Regions from separate parts of the Homo sapiens genome. Here all the other regions are linked to region 5. The links are contacts of gene promoters, found by promoter capture Hi-C in blood cells and fetal thymus (Javierre and others, 2016). All regions are on one chromosome and are shown on one strand. The core of a region is centred on a gene start or on the middle of the fragment in contact, and the rest is flanking DNA. Distances in the headings are between cores, read along the strand shown.

Region 1 (2,849 bases), core at 176-2,675, 920 kb after region 5:
CACATATAAAACAGTGCTTACTTTGGAGGTGCCACATGGGATTGAAAGCCATTGTTCTTGGTACCTAAATGGCCCATGCCTGCTGTATATCCTCATGTTCTTTCCCTGTCCCTTCCCTGTCCTTTCACGAATACCCTCTTCTATCTTCTTTATCCTCCCGCATCTTCCTTTCTTGTAGTTCAAAAACATCCACACCACATAATTGTTTAAGCATGTATAAAGTCATAAAACTACAAGTTTCCTAAACTTACTTAGTCTTGTTTCCTTGCCTTTTCATAGGATTACACATAACTTACACTCAGGGATGATAGTGAGAATCACTACATGAGTGTCAGGTAATAAATAATAAGACCATGATAATGTTACTGTCCAAAGCATTAGCAGGGGCTGCAACTATGAATGTGACATAAATTGCCACAAGAAACATTTAGGTTAAAGTGAAGGAAAAGACGGGAGTTTATCTCATTTATACCTAGATATATACAAGGACGACATTCCTCCTAACTTGACCCAGAGAGCTAAGAGCCAGGGGAACACATTCCCAAGGGAGAAGCAGAATGCCATTAGGCGAGAGAAGCACATGTGTGCACAGAAAGGCTGGTCGGACTCAGTATTCTCTGGTTGGGTACTGCAAAAAAGAAGAAGGAAGTAAAACTAGATCATTTTTAGCGCTCTGTCCATTTTCCGGCCACCAATTTCGTGCTGCCTTGCATAAAATGGTCACTAGCAGTTAAAACATATCACAGGACATGATCCCATAAGCAAACTCCAAATGACTGATTGTTCAAAGATTATGTGCTTTGTGCTAAAAACCGCCAACTATTACAATACCATCAAATCCCTTGAAGCAACTCTTGGTGATTTGAGCTGAGGTTTAGCAAGCAAGTAGAAACTGCTTTCGATTCTACTTTGAAACAATACGATGATCAGAATGACATCCCCAGTGCTGCAGGTCAACCGGCTTCTCGCATTTTCTTTTCACCTGTCCAGTATCTGAAGGTTACGGTCTAAATGCCTAGGGTCTGGGAGTTCCTCAAATCATGCATACTAAGAGGTAGAAAGGCTGCCCTTGCAGATAAAGACAAGGGCAGGTGGCCACATTTTAAAGTGAGACAGAGTAAAATACCCTGGAAAGAACTGATAATGTTTTCTAAATGCTTTCTAAAGACAACCTGTAAACACATATTGGAGAAAAAGCAGCAAGGTACTCTCCAACTGGGCATATCCTGAGGAACCAACAAACAGTGTTCATGAAGGACCCGTGTCCATCAGGGTGGGTTTCACAATGCAGCTGGCTGTCCCTGGAAGGATGCAGGGATGAGAAGGAGCCTCTCCGATGTTAACCAGTGCCACATCTCGTGGGCAGATCTGGCCAGAGTGAGCCCAAAACACATCACTCACTGGCCTAGCTTACGTACCCTCAGAGCAGCTGTTCAATGAACAGTCTTCAGCAAGAACTACTAAAAGACAGAGAAACTAGATTTTTAAACAGCAAAAACTTCATTAATTTAGCATGTACAATAGTTCAAATGTCCGATTTGTACATGATTTTTTGAAAGAAAAGTTTGAAATATGTAGCAAATGCTTACTTTGTATCAGATCATGAACCCTGTGCCAATGATGAATTAAAAAGCTCACGTATATTGAACTTTTGTCATGTTAATGCCTCTCAGGATTATCGCATTTAATTTTCACAAGGATCTAAGAGTTGAGTTCTGTTACCATCCCCATTTTCTAGCTGAGGCTTAGTTAAGTAAGTAAACTGCCTGAACCAGAGCAGGGAAGCCAACACCATCAGAGAAAGGAACCCATACGCCTATCCACGCTGCATCCGGGAAAGAACAGAATTATTTCATGAGCATCCCTTACTTATAGCTTCACTAAAAGCAGTTACAAGCTAAACAGTTAAACTATAATTTGCAAAGCATATTTGAGATTTAGACTTTCCATCACATGATTACACTTCTCATCTATTTCTGTATCTATTCTCTACATTTCTGCAATGCAATGTAACTACATGAAACCATTTCCTGATATAACTCACTGTCTTAGTTAACTGGTCAATTCTATGAAACCAGTGCAAGTCTCAAAACGTCCACACTGGCTACCAAGCAACAACCACTTCCCTAAAAAACGACAGCATGAAACATGTTTATCTGTTTGCAATCATCACATTTTCTGGCCTAAAGAGAATTTTTCTTAATAGAAATAAATCAATAGACATAGTTCAAAAGTAAACTTTACAACTATATAGGAAAGAAAGGATCAGAAGGGAAGAGGAATGAGAAGGAGATGAAGAGGTACCCCAGCAGCCTCACCGGAGACAGGAGGTGGCGGGAAGGATGCCCTCCTGTCTGTATTGCTTTTTCAAGTCTGACAACTCTACCAGGGCTTTAACTCCTGGGCTCAAGCAATCCTTCTGCTTCAGCCTCCCAAACTGCTGGGGTGTGCCCCACCCCCATGCTCACTAGGGCTCTTTATAATGATGGGTACTACAGTAACATAAAAACAGGAAAAATGGGAACCTTTCTGCCTCCTCTTCCCACGAGAGACAGCATAGCAATTGCAAATCTGGTTCATAATAAAACCTTTTTTTTTTTTTTGAGACAGGGTCTCACTTTGTTTCCCAGGCTGGAATGCAATGGCATGATCATGGCTCACTGCAGCTTCAACCTCCCTGGCTCAAGCGATCCTTCCACCTCAGCCTCACAAATAGCTGGGCCTACAGGCGTGTGCCACCATGTCTGACTAGTTGTTGTTGCTGTTGTTGTTGTTGTTGTTGTCGTGTGTGTGTGTGTGTGTGTGTGTGTGTGTGTGTGTGTGTGTGTGTAGACAGAGTTTCACCATGT
Region 2 (2,700 bases), core at 170-2,669, 870 kb before region 5:
GAACACTCTTCCATCTCCCTATCCACTTCCCCCTTCCCCTCCCCCCAAAACCAAAACCAAAACCAAAAAAACCTTACAAACAAACGGGGGGAAAAAAACCCCAGTGTGACAGAGAAAACCCAAAAGTTATCAATTCAGTAATCTCCATTTAGTGTTAAAAAAAGAATGTCAAAAGGGTAGCTTGCAAGTAAGAATAAAAGAGGTTTTTCATGACCAGCTTTTCCCATTCTCTATTATCCCTCAGCGGCAGCTTTTGGTGTCTCTGGTACGAGGCAAGGTGTCGAGGGGGGCCATATTAACCCCCTGTGAATGCCTGGCCGATAATTAACATCTTGGGTCCAAGAACCGATACAATGAGCTGGGGGAACGGAATCTTTCTCAACCAGTAATAGGTAATTGAACGCTTTTGCTGATTTGATTATAAGGAATAACTCTCGGTGATCAAAACCAAAGCTGGGTTAAAATCCTAAAGCTGGGGGACAGCTGAAGCACCCACTTCACGACTTAACGTTTCAGGAATATGAATTCTATGTTCAGAAAATTTCCCCACACTCTTCTTCGCTGGCACATTCACTGATGTAGAAAATGCCAGGAGCCCCGGGGGTGTGATGTTTCCGGTGGATAATGTCTCCCGTTCCCTGCCCCGGGGCCCAGACAGTTGGTGCTTAAGCGTCTACAATGTAGAGTTTCCTGCATTTTCCTCGGGCCGCCATTTGTCTACTTGTCCCATCCAGGACATCTCCCTAAATAATCTCTAAGTGGAAAAATCACGGTCCTCTAGGAGATTTATCCGGGAACGAACGTGCGTGGGGCAGTTCAAATTCCTGAGCTCAGATTTCGTTTCCCGCGGTCAGATGGTGCGGTCGGTGGGGCCCGAGGGATGCGCACAGCTGTGCCTGAGAGGTGCTGCTCTCCCGCCACCGAAGTCGCTGGGAAATTCTGCTGCACTGAGACATTTTAATGTCGGATGTTCTAATCCTGCGGGCAAAAAAAAAAAAAAAGTTTGAACCAGGTACTGGGCTTTTGTCACGGTGAACCCCACCCGCGCCCCGCGCCGTCCCTTCATTCACTCAGGCGAGGTGGCTTGGATTTGCACCTCGTTGAAGAAGCCTCCCATGCGACATCTCCGCCAGCACCCCGCGCGGACTTGGCTGGGCGGCGGCGGGGAGTCAGCTTGTCACCGCACGGCGGCCGGGACCGCAGCCCCTGGGTGCGCAGTGCGCCTCTCGCTGCGCCCTCCTAGAGCGCGGGTCCCGTGCCTGTGCCCGGCGCGACGCGATCTCCCTGCTAGTCGGGCTCCGCGTGCTCCCCGCGCTTCCCGCAGCCTCCGCGCAGCCCGCAGCGCCCTCCAGCCCCGCCTCGCGGCCGCGGGAACCCGGCGCCTGCAGCCCCGCCCGGAACCGACCGCCAGGCGCTGTTGCCGCCGGCCACGCAACGCGGGGCCTCTGCCTGGCACCAGCCCCAGGTGCCTTGTCTCGGGTCGTGCTGTCGCGCGACACTGGGGACCCAACAGGCCGCCGGCTACTCAGCTGGCCCCGCAGCTTCCCTGCGGCTCAGCGGCCTCCCACCCAGGAGAAAACCACATTTGATGAGAGTTTTGAATCAAGCCGAGCGTTCCCCCAGATGTTCAGCTACCTCAATTTCTAATGATTCCACAATCCCTTGTGATTCATCTCTTTCCTCCTAAGGGTTGCCAATGGCTCAAAGTTTAGACTTGGGATATAAAAAACGCTATTCACAGCCTTATTAGGAGGAGTAGGTGGGGAAGGGGAACTGGATACTGAATGGATTTTTTAATCTACGGAGAAAAATCACTCAACTGAGACCCGGCCTCTTTAATTTTCCTTTCTGAATCTCAGTGACTTCCTCTATAAAATAAAATGCAAAACAATGATATCTCACCTGCGTCAGAAAGTTGGTCACATGGTCTCATGAAGTCTCTTTCAAGGCTAAGATCTCTATGATTTTGTGATCAGTAGATTGAAATTTAAGATTAGAAACAGGTTATTTCTTGAAAGCAGTAAATGGAGGGCATTATGTGTGAATCAAGTACCAGAAGCAGGGGGTCTTTGTCTCTCCCTCTCCCCAGATGGGGCAGGGTCTCCACACTCTGAAATGTTAGTGTCAGTAACACATAATCAGGAAGTCGAATATGCGGATTATCTAGTCCTTTAGGATTCTTTGCACCATTGATTCTTTCCACTAATATTGATAACCCAAAGTTAATGACATATTGTGAGTTTCTCTTCTTTGCCTTCATGTTTTCAATCCTGGAGACAGAAAAAGGAACTAATTCTCTTCTTTTAAAACAAAAACAAAAACAGAAAAAATCAATCCCATTGATCAATGTGGAAAACCAAAGACCCAAGACTCCCCTGTGCCAAATCCCTCCCATGACCCTCCACTGTGATTCAAATTGGAGTGTTCTGGAAAATGCCGGTTCGAATTGCAAGGAGGCAGAATCAATCTCTCTCTCTCTCTTCAAAGGAGACACAGGCTCTTCTCAGGGACATTCCCTTATGTCTTTTTGATGCAGGAGGTTTAAGAGTCTCCATCTTAAAGCCCGCTGAGTTGGCTGAATGCTGACTTTAGGTGCCCACTATGAGCAGTGTAGTGCCCAGTCCTCAGAAAGAATCTAGAGTATTTTTACAGAACGAATTGCCTTTGTTTACCTTTCTGAATCATTTCATGCATGTTGTT
Region 3 (2,700 bases), core at 97-2,596, 990 kb after region 5:
GGTTCCAGGTAGGGATCCAAGTTCATTTTTTCGCATGTGGATATCAAATGTCCCGGCACCATTTATTGAGATGGCCATCCTTTCTCTACCTCATCGCTTTTGTAACCTTGTTCAATATCAGTTGTCCATTGATGTATGGATTTATTTATGGACTCTATTAGGTTCCATTGATCTATCTGCCCTCTTTAAGCCAATACTATGCTGTTTTGATTGCTATAGCTTTATAACAATTTTCTCTTTTTTGGCCCTAATTTCACATTTATTTTATTTTTAAAATTTTGACTTTTATTATAGACTAAAGGGTATATGTGCAGCTTTGTTGCATGGGTAAATCGCATGACTCTGAGGCTTGAGGTCCCAGCGATCCTGTCCCCCAGGCAGTCAGCATAGTACTTAACTAGTCGTTCTTCAGCCCATGCTGGTAACAACTTTCAAAATCAAGTAGTGTTCTTCCTCCAACTTTGTTTTTCTTCTGCAGAGTTATTTTGGCTATTTTAGGTCCTTTGCATTTCCAGATGAATTTTAGAATCAGCTTATCAATTTTTACCAAAAAAAGAATCTCATGGGATTTCAATTGGAATTGCATTGACTCTACACATCAATTTAATTGCCTCCTCTTGTTTCTTTTTTATATGAAAGGTTGTCCCCATACACACAGTTCTGCACCTGGCTCTTCACACTCCACAATGAATGGAGATCTTTCATTCTTCTCCCTTAGCTCCCATTATAGTTTCATTGTATCCTTTTGTTGGGATGGAACTTATTTCATTTAACTGTAGTGAAACTGATGGATTGCTAGCTTACTGCTGATATTTTGCTATTACAAACAGTGCTGCAGTATAATCACTGTACGTGTCATTTCCCTTGTGGGCAAATATATCTGCAGGATGAATTTGAGAAGTGTGATTGCCAGGTCAAAGGGAATATACATTTAACATTTTACTGGCAAGGGCCAGGTGCGGTGGCTCACGCCTGTAATCCCAGCATTTTGGGAGGCTGAGGCGAGCGGATCACAAGGTCAGGAGATTGAGACCATCCTGGCTAACACGGTGAAACCCCATCTCTACTAAAAAAATATACAAAAAATTAGCCGAGTGTGGTGGCACCCGCCTGTAGTCCCAGCTACTCGGGAGGCTGAGGCAGGAGAATAGCTTGAACCTGGGGGGCAGAGGTTGCAGTGAGCTGAGACTGCGCCACTGCACTCCAGCCTAGGTGACAGAGCTAAACTCCATCTCAAAAAAAAAAAATTAATGGTTATGGCTAAATCCTTTCCTAGAGTTTCATAATTTATATACTTTTCATTAATACATTAGAAGGCTTGTTTTGCCATAGCCTTAACAGTGCATTACCAAACTTTCTTGTTTTTGCCAAATTAATAGGTGAAGATGGCCTATCAAAATCATTTTGATTTTCACTTCTTTATTTCAGGTAAGTTTAAACATTGTTTCATGTGTTGAAGAGCCATTTGTATTTCTTTCTTTTTTTTTTTTTTTTTTTTGAGATGGAGTCTCGCTCTGTTGCCTGGGCTGGAGTGTAGTGGCGCAATCTCAGCTCACTGCAAGCTCCGCCTTCCGGGTTCACGCGATTCTCCTGCCTCAGCCTCCCGAGTAGCTGGGACTACAGGCACCCGCCACCACACCTTGACAGGGTTTCACCGTGTTAGCCAGGATGGTCTCGATTTCCTGACCTCGTGATCCGCCTGCCTCAGCCTCCCAAAGTGCTGGGATTACAGGCGTGAGCCACCGCGCCCAGCTGTATTTCTTTTTTTGAGACAGAGTCTGGCTCTGTTTCCCAGGCTGGAGTGCAGTGGTGCAATCTCAAATCACTGCAACCTCCGCCTCCTAGGTTCAAGTGATTCTCCTGCCTCAGCCTCCCTCGTAGCTGGCACTATAGTTATACACCCAGCTAATTTTTGTATTTTTAATGGAGACAGGGTTTCACCATGTTGGCCTGGCTGGTCTCAAACTCCTGGCCTCAAGTGATACGCCCACCCTGGCCTTCCAAAGTGCTGGGATTACAGGGATGAGCCACCGCACCCCGCCCCATTGTATTTCCTTTTTTCTGACTTTTTGTTTTCACAACCTTGGCTGCTATGGTCTGAAGGTTTGTGCCCCCTTAAAATTCATATGCTGAAATCCTAACCTCCAAGGTGATACTAGGAGGTGGAGACATTCAGAGGTGATTAAATCAGGAGGGATTATGTCTTTATAAAATAGTCCTGAAGGAGCTTGTTGGCCCCTTCCACCACGTAAAGACACAGTCAGAAGGCACCATTTGTGAACCAGAAAGCATTTCCTCAGTAGGCACCAAATCTGTCAGCCCCTTGACCTAAGAGTTCCTAGCTTCTGCCAGAACTGTGAGAAAAAATTTCTGTTGCTTATATAAACCACGCAGTTTGTGGTATTTTGTCATAGCAGCCTGAACTAAGACTCGCACACTTTTTCTCCATTTTGCCATCTTTGCTTATACCTTTTTTCTTTTTCTTTTTTTTTTTTTTGCCATAATGGAGGTTTTAAAAATATTTATGCATTTGAAATTACTAGCCTTTCCTTTGAGGCTTTAGATTTTTAGTCTTAATTAGAAAGTCTTTCCCCACTCCAGTATTTGAATTTCCTCGTGATTTTCTTCAAATACTTTGATGAGTTTTTTTTTCTTTTACATTGAAATCTCTTCATTATTTGGAGCCTATTCTACTACAGT
Region 4 (2,718 bases), core at 194-2,693, 950 kb after region 5:
TGGGGACATGTACCGTATTTTCTCTGTTTAAAAAAAGAAAGAAAGAAAGAGGAGTAAATACTTAAGTTAAAACTTTCATCTAAGACAGTTAAAATTTTCCACCATGAAAGGAGTTAGCTCACTGTGGTTAAGAATTCAACTATGGCCAGATTCAGTGGCTCGTGCCTGTAATCCCAGCACTTAATCTCTATGCCTTCATGAACCATGCATAAAGAAATAATTTGGTATGAAAAAATCAACCAGGGAATAAGTACTACCCTGGAAAGAAGAGATTTTTAAAAACTTTTAAAATAAGTCAATGTCTATTTATAAGAGGAAAATGAAGAAGGGTACTAGATACTGGTAGGATCAATTTTTTAAAACTCAGTTGCAATCAACAAGCCGGCCGTTAAACAGGTTTTCAAATGAAATTAACATATAACTTGGCCAAAACAAAGCTGGCAATATTCACACACCACATTATAACCTGCAAACTGAATATAGCTCATTCAAATACCAAAGTACTACCCTGAATTCTCCCCTTTTAAAAATTTCAATATATACAGAACGATTACAGTGGAAAAAAATGTTGAGTACTTAAAAAATTGGTTTTACCTGATCCGTATACCAGTAATAGGGAGTGGGGTCAATCCCTTCCCTTTTATAACCTGCCAGTATTTCTTCACTATCAAAGATACGCATTGAGCCTCCCACAATCTCACCAACATTGGGCATCAACACGTCGACCTTTAAATATAAGTGAAAGAAGATACACAATTACTATCAAGCGATCAGACACAGCACTGCCCTAGAGTTTAAATGAAAATTACAATTAAGCTCCAAGGGCTAAAGGAGCCACTATGATCATGTAATATTCAAATGTTTACATTTCTCTAATTTAACAAAGCATGTCAACTTCAATCAGGGGAGGGTGAAAAAACCCAACGTCTTTAAATATTGTTATTCTAGATAGAGAATGAAATATTTGGCATGAGCTGTACCTGATTCCAGATGACAGTCCCCACCCCCTTAAAAAGCAAAATTATTAATACTCTTTGAAACAGAAACTGACAGATTCAGTAAGACGGGAATCCTCAGGACATCGCTGCATGTAGAAGGACTTGATCTCCACAGGAAATCGACACAGCAAGATTGGTTCATTAATGGTGTCTGTCATCAGTCTCTCAGGAGCTTCTGGGATATCCTGAGGTCAAACAAGACTTCATTAACATTTACAACTTGGATCGCAACAAGACAGAAGCAGCTCCTTCACCCTGTACCAGTCCTTCCTCCTATCAATTCAACAGAGTAGAGGATACACACCTACCCTTAACCCATACACATTTGTGTAAAGAATAATTTCTTTCAAAAAGAAATAAACATATTCTTAAAACTCAGTTATTTAATGAAGCATAAAAGATCTGTCTCCCTTTACAGCATATCTCAAGCACCATGCTGTTTGATGAAGGAAAATAAAAAAAAAAACAAAAACAAAAGCCAGCCCCAAGCTGTGACTAGACACAGCTCAGTATTTTTCTCAGTGGCCCGTTTTGTCTAGCTCTGAAGCAAATGAGGTCCACTTAGTCCCGTAAGGCATACGGTAATCATGAATGCTCCAGAACATCATTGATCTACACACAGAGTATATTACTAATGACACTTATCTTTAAACTCTCCTGTTATCTACCCTTCTTTCCTGTTGTAATCAATCAGTTATGCCTTCGATGACAGACACAATCATAAGACAAATAACCAATGTCAAACTGGTAAGTGTAAGCACACCTGGAATAGTTACCCAAACAATGTTAGATGATGACTTAAGCGCATCAGTTTCTCTCTCAAAACATCCTTCTATACCACACATAAATTAAAGTTAACACAGAAGTTAAAACTGACAACTCTCGTCCCAGTAAAAATGGATTGAGAGAACTGGAGAAGACTCATAGATTTGTTTAATGAAGAAGTGAAATGGAGGTAGCAATCACCTAGCACACCTGTTTTCAAGCTCCAGGCTCTGGAGCCCTTGCGTCCTCGGAGACGCCGAGAGGTAACAGGAGATGAGTGGGAGAGCTCTAGTCTCTCAGCTTGCATCTGCTTTACACAGCGGGGTTCTGCATAAGATTTAGTTAGGGGAAAACAGGTCTTATTTCATACCCCCCAAAGCCTGAGGGTCATGTATCCACTCTAGTGTCCTCATGTGTGTGGAACAGTAGCAATGTATAGTAAATGCTGACAGGCTCCCCCTGCCATTGTCCTGCCTAGGCATTTAGCTCCGGTAGTCCCCACAATCTTGCAAAACAGATGTTACTTCCAAGGTAGAGATAAGGAACCTGAGAGGGGGTCACTGGTCTTCAGTTACACAGCACAAAAGAAAAGAGGTGGGAGCTAAGCCCACCTGGGGGGCCTTCTGACTCCACAGCTTGTGTTCTTTCCACTCAACTACACTATTTTACTAAGTATTAGGAACACTAAAAGTATGCAAGTTCTCAATACAAAATTTTGTCATTATACATCATAAACTGAATTCATAGGCTGGGCACAGTGTGGCTCATGCCTATAATCTCAACACTCGGGAGGCCGAGGTGAGAGGACTGCTCGAGGCCAGGAGTTTGAGACCAGCCCAGTCAACACAGCAATACCTCCATCTCTTTAAAAAAAAAAAACCAAAAAACCAAACTGAATTCACAGAAACAAGAGTGCTTTACATAGACCCAGTATATTGTTTCACCTATTAATTCC
Region 5 (2,700 bases), core at 64-2,563:
GAGAGCCTTTAGTAAGGCCCATGTGGTAAGGAACTGTGGGTGGCTGCTAGGACCTGATGGCCACTTCCAGTTCAGAGCCAGTAAGAAGCCAGGGCCCCTAGTCAGACAGCCACAAGGAACTGAATGAGCTGACAGGAGTTTGGAATCAGATTCTTCCCTAGTTGAGCCTCCAGATGAGAATTGCAGTTTGGCTGACATCCACTTGTAGCCTTGTGAGAGCATGAGCACAGGACTCAGCTAACCTGTTCCTGACCTCCTTGCCCATGGAATGTGAGGCAATACATATGTGTTGCTTTAAGCCACTAAGACACTAAGACTGTGATAATTTGTTGTAAAGCAATTTTAAAAACCTGAATACCATGTGGTTAGGAAAAGTGCTACACTATTTATTAGTCAAAAGTCTTCAATTACTTTTCATTGTCTTTGGAATAAAGACCAAAAAGCTTATATGGCCACTAAAAGCCTCTTGTTATCTACATTATTCTATTTTTCCATGTTACTTTTTTATTACCTGGTCTAGGCCGAATGTGATGAAGTCTCTATCAACCCACAAGAGAGCTCCAGGGCATAGACTGCCTGTTAAAGGAGCCGCTCACGGAGCAGAAACAGCTAAGCCCTGATACCACATTTTCCCACTTCACCTACTTCACGTCCCTTGTATTTCTTCCAAATTTAACTTTCTATTTATTGCATATATTCATGTTTTACATTTCAATGCTGGTGACAAAGTTGTTTTCCTTTCCCAATTATTATTCCAAATCTGACCAATTTTTCTAGACTTCCATATGACCTAATGTGATTATCCTTCCTTACCCCAACCTAGAAATAATTCATCTCTTTTCTTCCTTGCTCCTTATTTGGCATTTCTCATCCTGCACTATACTATAGCTTATCTATCTTGGGGGACATTTGTCATTCTTTTTAGCTTTCCAGCATCCAACATACTTTCCAGTGTTTAGGGAATTCCCTACCTCTTGCATCTCAGTGGGAAGCAGTGTGATGGGGTCAGAAGTGTAAACTTGCGCAACATCCTGCTCCCAAGAAAGACGTGCACTTGCTACTTCATCCTTCGCTCCATCTTGGTCCTCCCAACTGGAGAGAGGACAGCCTAGACGAGACTTCCCACAACCAAGATGGCGGCCGTGCACTCCTTGCCCACAGCTGGCCTTTTCTCCACTTTCGGTCTCCATCGTAACGCGGCTGGCTCTCTCGGCGCCGGCTTAGGCCTTGCAAGTAGGGAAATGGTGAGTCTTTCCCGCCCCCTCATTTTTGCGACAGTTGCAGCGAAAGTCACGGCAGTTGGGGCTGGTGTCAGCTGATTTACTGCAGTGGCGGCGGCGGCGGCACCGGCACCTTGCAGTATCACTGGGGAGACGGCGGCTGTATAGCGCTTGCCGCCCCACGGATTATCCCAGCAGGATCTACGCACCCCGCATCCTCCGTAGTTCCGCCCTATCCTTGTCCTCCTTGGCTGGGGCGCCCACCGGCGGTCTGATAGGCTACATCGCGGCATGAGATGAAGCTGTGACAGGTAAGGGGGCTTTCAAGCTTCTCCATGGGAAACCACAGGGCGGGATGTTCCTGCACCGTGGAGGTCAGGGGTCAGGGGTCAAAGGTCACAAACCCGCTCTAGCCGGGGGCGGTGCTAGCTGTCAGATCGCTGCGGCTGCAAGCCTGCAGGTCGGGCCCAAAAGTAGGCGCCGTTACCAAGAGCGTGGGGGCCAGCCGGGGGTCTTTGTGGCTCCCTTGCCTGGTGAGTGATATTTGCTACTTGTGACAGTTGCTTTGGTCTTGAGGTGGGACTGCCTGGTTCCCAGGTGCAATCTAAACGGGATCAGGTGATTGGTGATGATCGTTGGTGGTTATTGACAGCAATTTTGGGCGATGTGCTTGCTTTTGGGGTTCATATAGTCTTTCCTTTCCTGTTGGTACTATTTTTGCCCATGCCCAAGGTACTGACACCACTGTTAGAATTTCATTTTTGAGATGCCATCTGCCAGTTCTTATCCCTTTGCCCTAGTACTTGTCTGAGCGGATGCCAGTCACTCCCATTCACTTAGTGATGGGTCCCAGCGTTCTGAAGCTATGTTTGAAGTCAGCACTACCCTAACTTTGATTCAAAAATTGCTGTTTTATGTTTTTTACCCACTTAGTATGTCACTTTTTGAGGCAGAATTTGCTGGGTTAGATAGTCTGAAACTAGGGAACCTACCGTCGCATGACAGGCTGCATTGATATTGTTGATGCTGCTGAATTTAGGGTTCGGTCAGTGGCAGCTATAGCTTCCTCTCACTGTAATATTTGCCATGAGACAAAAAAAGGCAAACTGACTCTTTCAGGTGTTTATGTCTTAGGATTTTATGGGCAAGGTTGCAGGAATTGCCTGTTGTATGAAAGAAATTAACTGAGTTTTTGACATTTTGTAAAACAAAAATTTTAGTTTGACTCTGCTTCTTGCTTTATAAACAAACTCGTGGCTGTATGAAGGTCAGCTTAAAAGTGAACATAATGTGTTGAAATGCCCTCATTATTACAAAGAATAAAAAACTGTCTAGTTCCATCCAGAACAATACATATTAGTTATTATAAATTGGGAAAACGAACCACTATAAATATAATTAATGCTTTATTATTAATGTCAATTAGGGATTATGGTAGAAAATTCATTTATTTTACTGCCAATCCTTATTTTAAGAGTGT

Evidence for each region. Contacts are between HindIII fragments. The CHiCAGO score rates a contact against its expected background, and 5 or more counts as called.
Region 1: a contact is called between a fragment that was not itself captured here and the fragment with the promoter of WDR7 in region 5, in 7 of 17 cell types (naive CD4 T cells, total CD4 T cells, activated CD4 T cells and 4 more). The highest score is 9.5, in naive CD4 T cells.
Region 2: a fragment that was not itself captured here is called in contact with the fragment with the promoter of WDR7 in region 5 in 2 of 17 cell types (monocytes and total B cells); the score reaches 7.4 in monocytes.
Region 3: a fragment that was not itself captured here is called in contact with the fragment with the promoter of WDR7 in region 5 in 2 of 17 cell types (total CD8 T cells and naive CD4 T cells); the score reaches 7.2 in total CD8 T cells.
Region 4: a fragment that was not itself captured here is called in contact with the fragment with the promoter of WDR7 in region 5 in 4 of 17 cell types (total CD8 T cells, total CD4 T cells, non-activated CD4 T cells and 1 more); the score reaches 8.1 in total CD8 T cells.

What each region holds. Positions count from the first base shown.
Region 1 is chr18:57,567,249-57,570,097 of GRCh38, forward strand. The region is part of intron 4 of FECH (ferrochelatase); the gene reads right to left. Among named protein-coding and RNA genes, the nearest start is that of FECH, 18 kb to the right of the region's middle. The HindIII fragment of the contact is 5,994 bases long and covers 1-2,849 here.
Region 2 is chr18:55,779,053-55,781,752 of GRCh38, forward strand. It overlaps LINC01415 (long intergenic non-protein coding RNA 1415), which reads right to left and starts at 2,673. Exons shown (of 2, transcript NR_145452.1): 1 at 1,903-2,673; 2 at 1-978. The region is part of intron 2 of LOC105372130 (a long non-coding RNA gene); the gene reads left to right. The HindIII fragment of the contact is 4,279 bases long and covers 1-2,700 here.
Region 3 is chr18:57,638,103-57,640,802 of GRCh38, forward strand. The region is part of intron 1 of ATP8B1-AS1 (ATP8B1 antisense RNA 1); the gene reads left to right. Among named protein-coding and RNA genes, the nearest start is that of ATP8B1-AS1, 9.1 kb to the left of the region's middle. The HindIII fragment of the contact is 5,643 bases long and covers 1-2,700 here.
Region 4 is chr18:57,601,761-57,604,478 of GRCh38, forward strand. NARS1 (asparaginyl-tRNA synthetase 1) reads right to left here. Exons shown (of 14, transcript NM_004539.4): 12 at 1,052-1,183; 13 at 595-726; 14 at 1-23. Among named protein-coding and RNA genes, the nearest start is that of FECH, 16 kb to the left of the region's middle. RefSeq lists an enhancer at 2,117-2,411. The HindIII fragment of the contact is 8,142 bases long and covers 1-2,718 here.
Region 5 is chr18:56,650,046-56,652,745 of GRCh38, forward strand. WDR7 (WD repeat domain 7) reads left to right here and starts at 1,314. Exons shown (of 28, transcript NM_015285.3): 1 at 1,314-1,531. RefSeq lists an enhancer at 1,045-1,434. The HindIII fragment of the contact is 1,105 bases long and covers 442-1,546 here.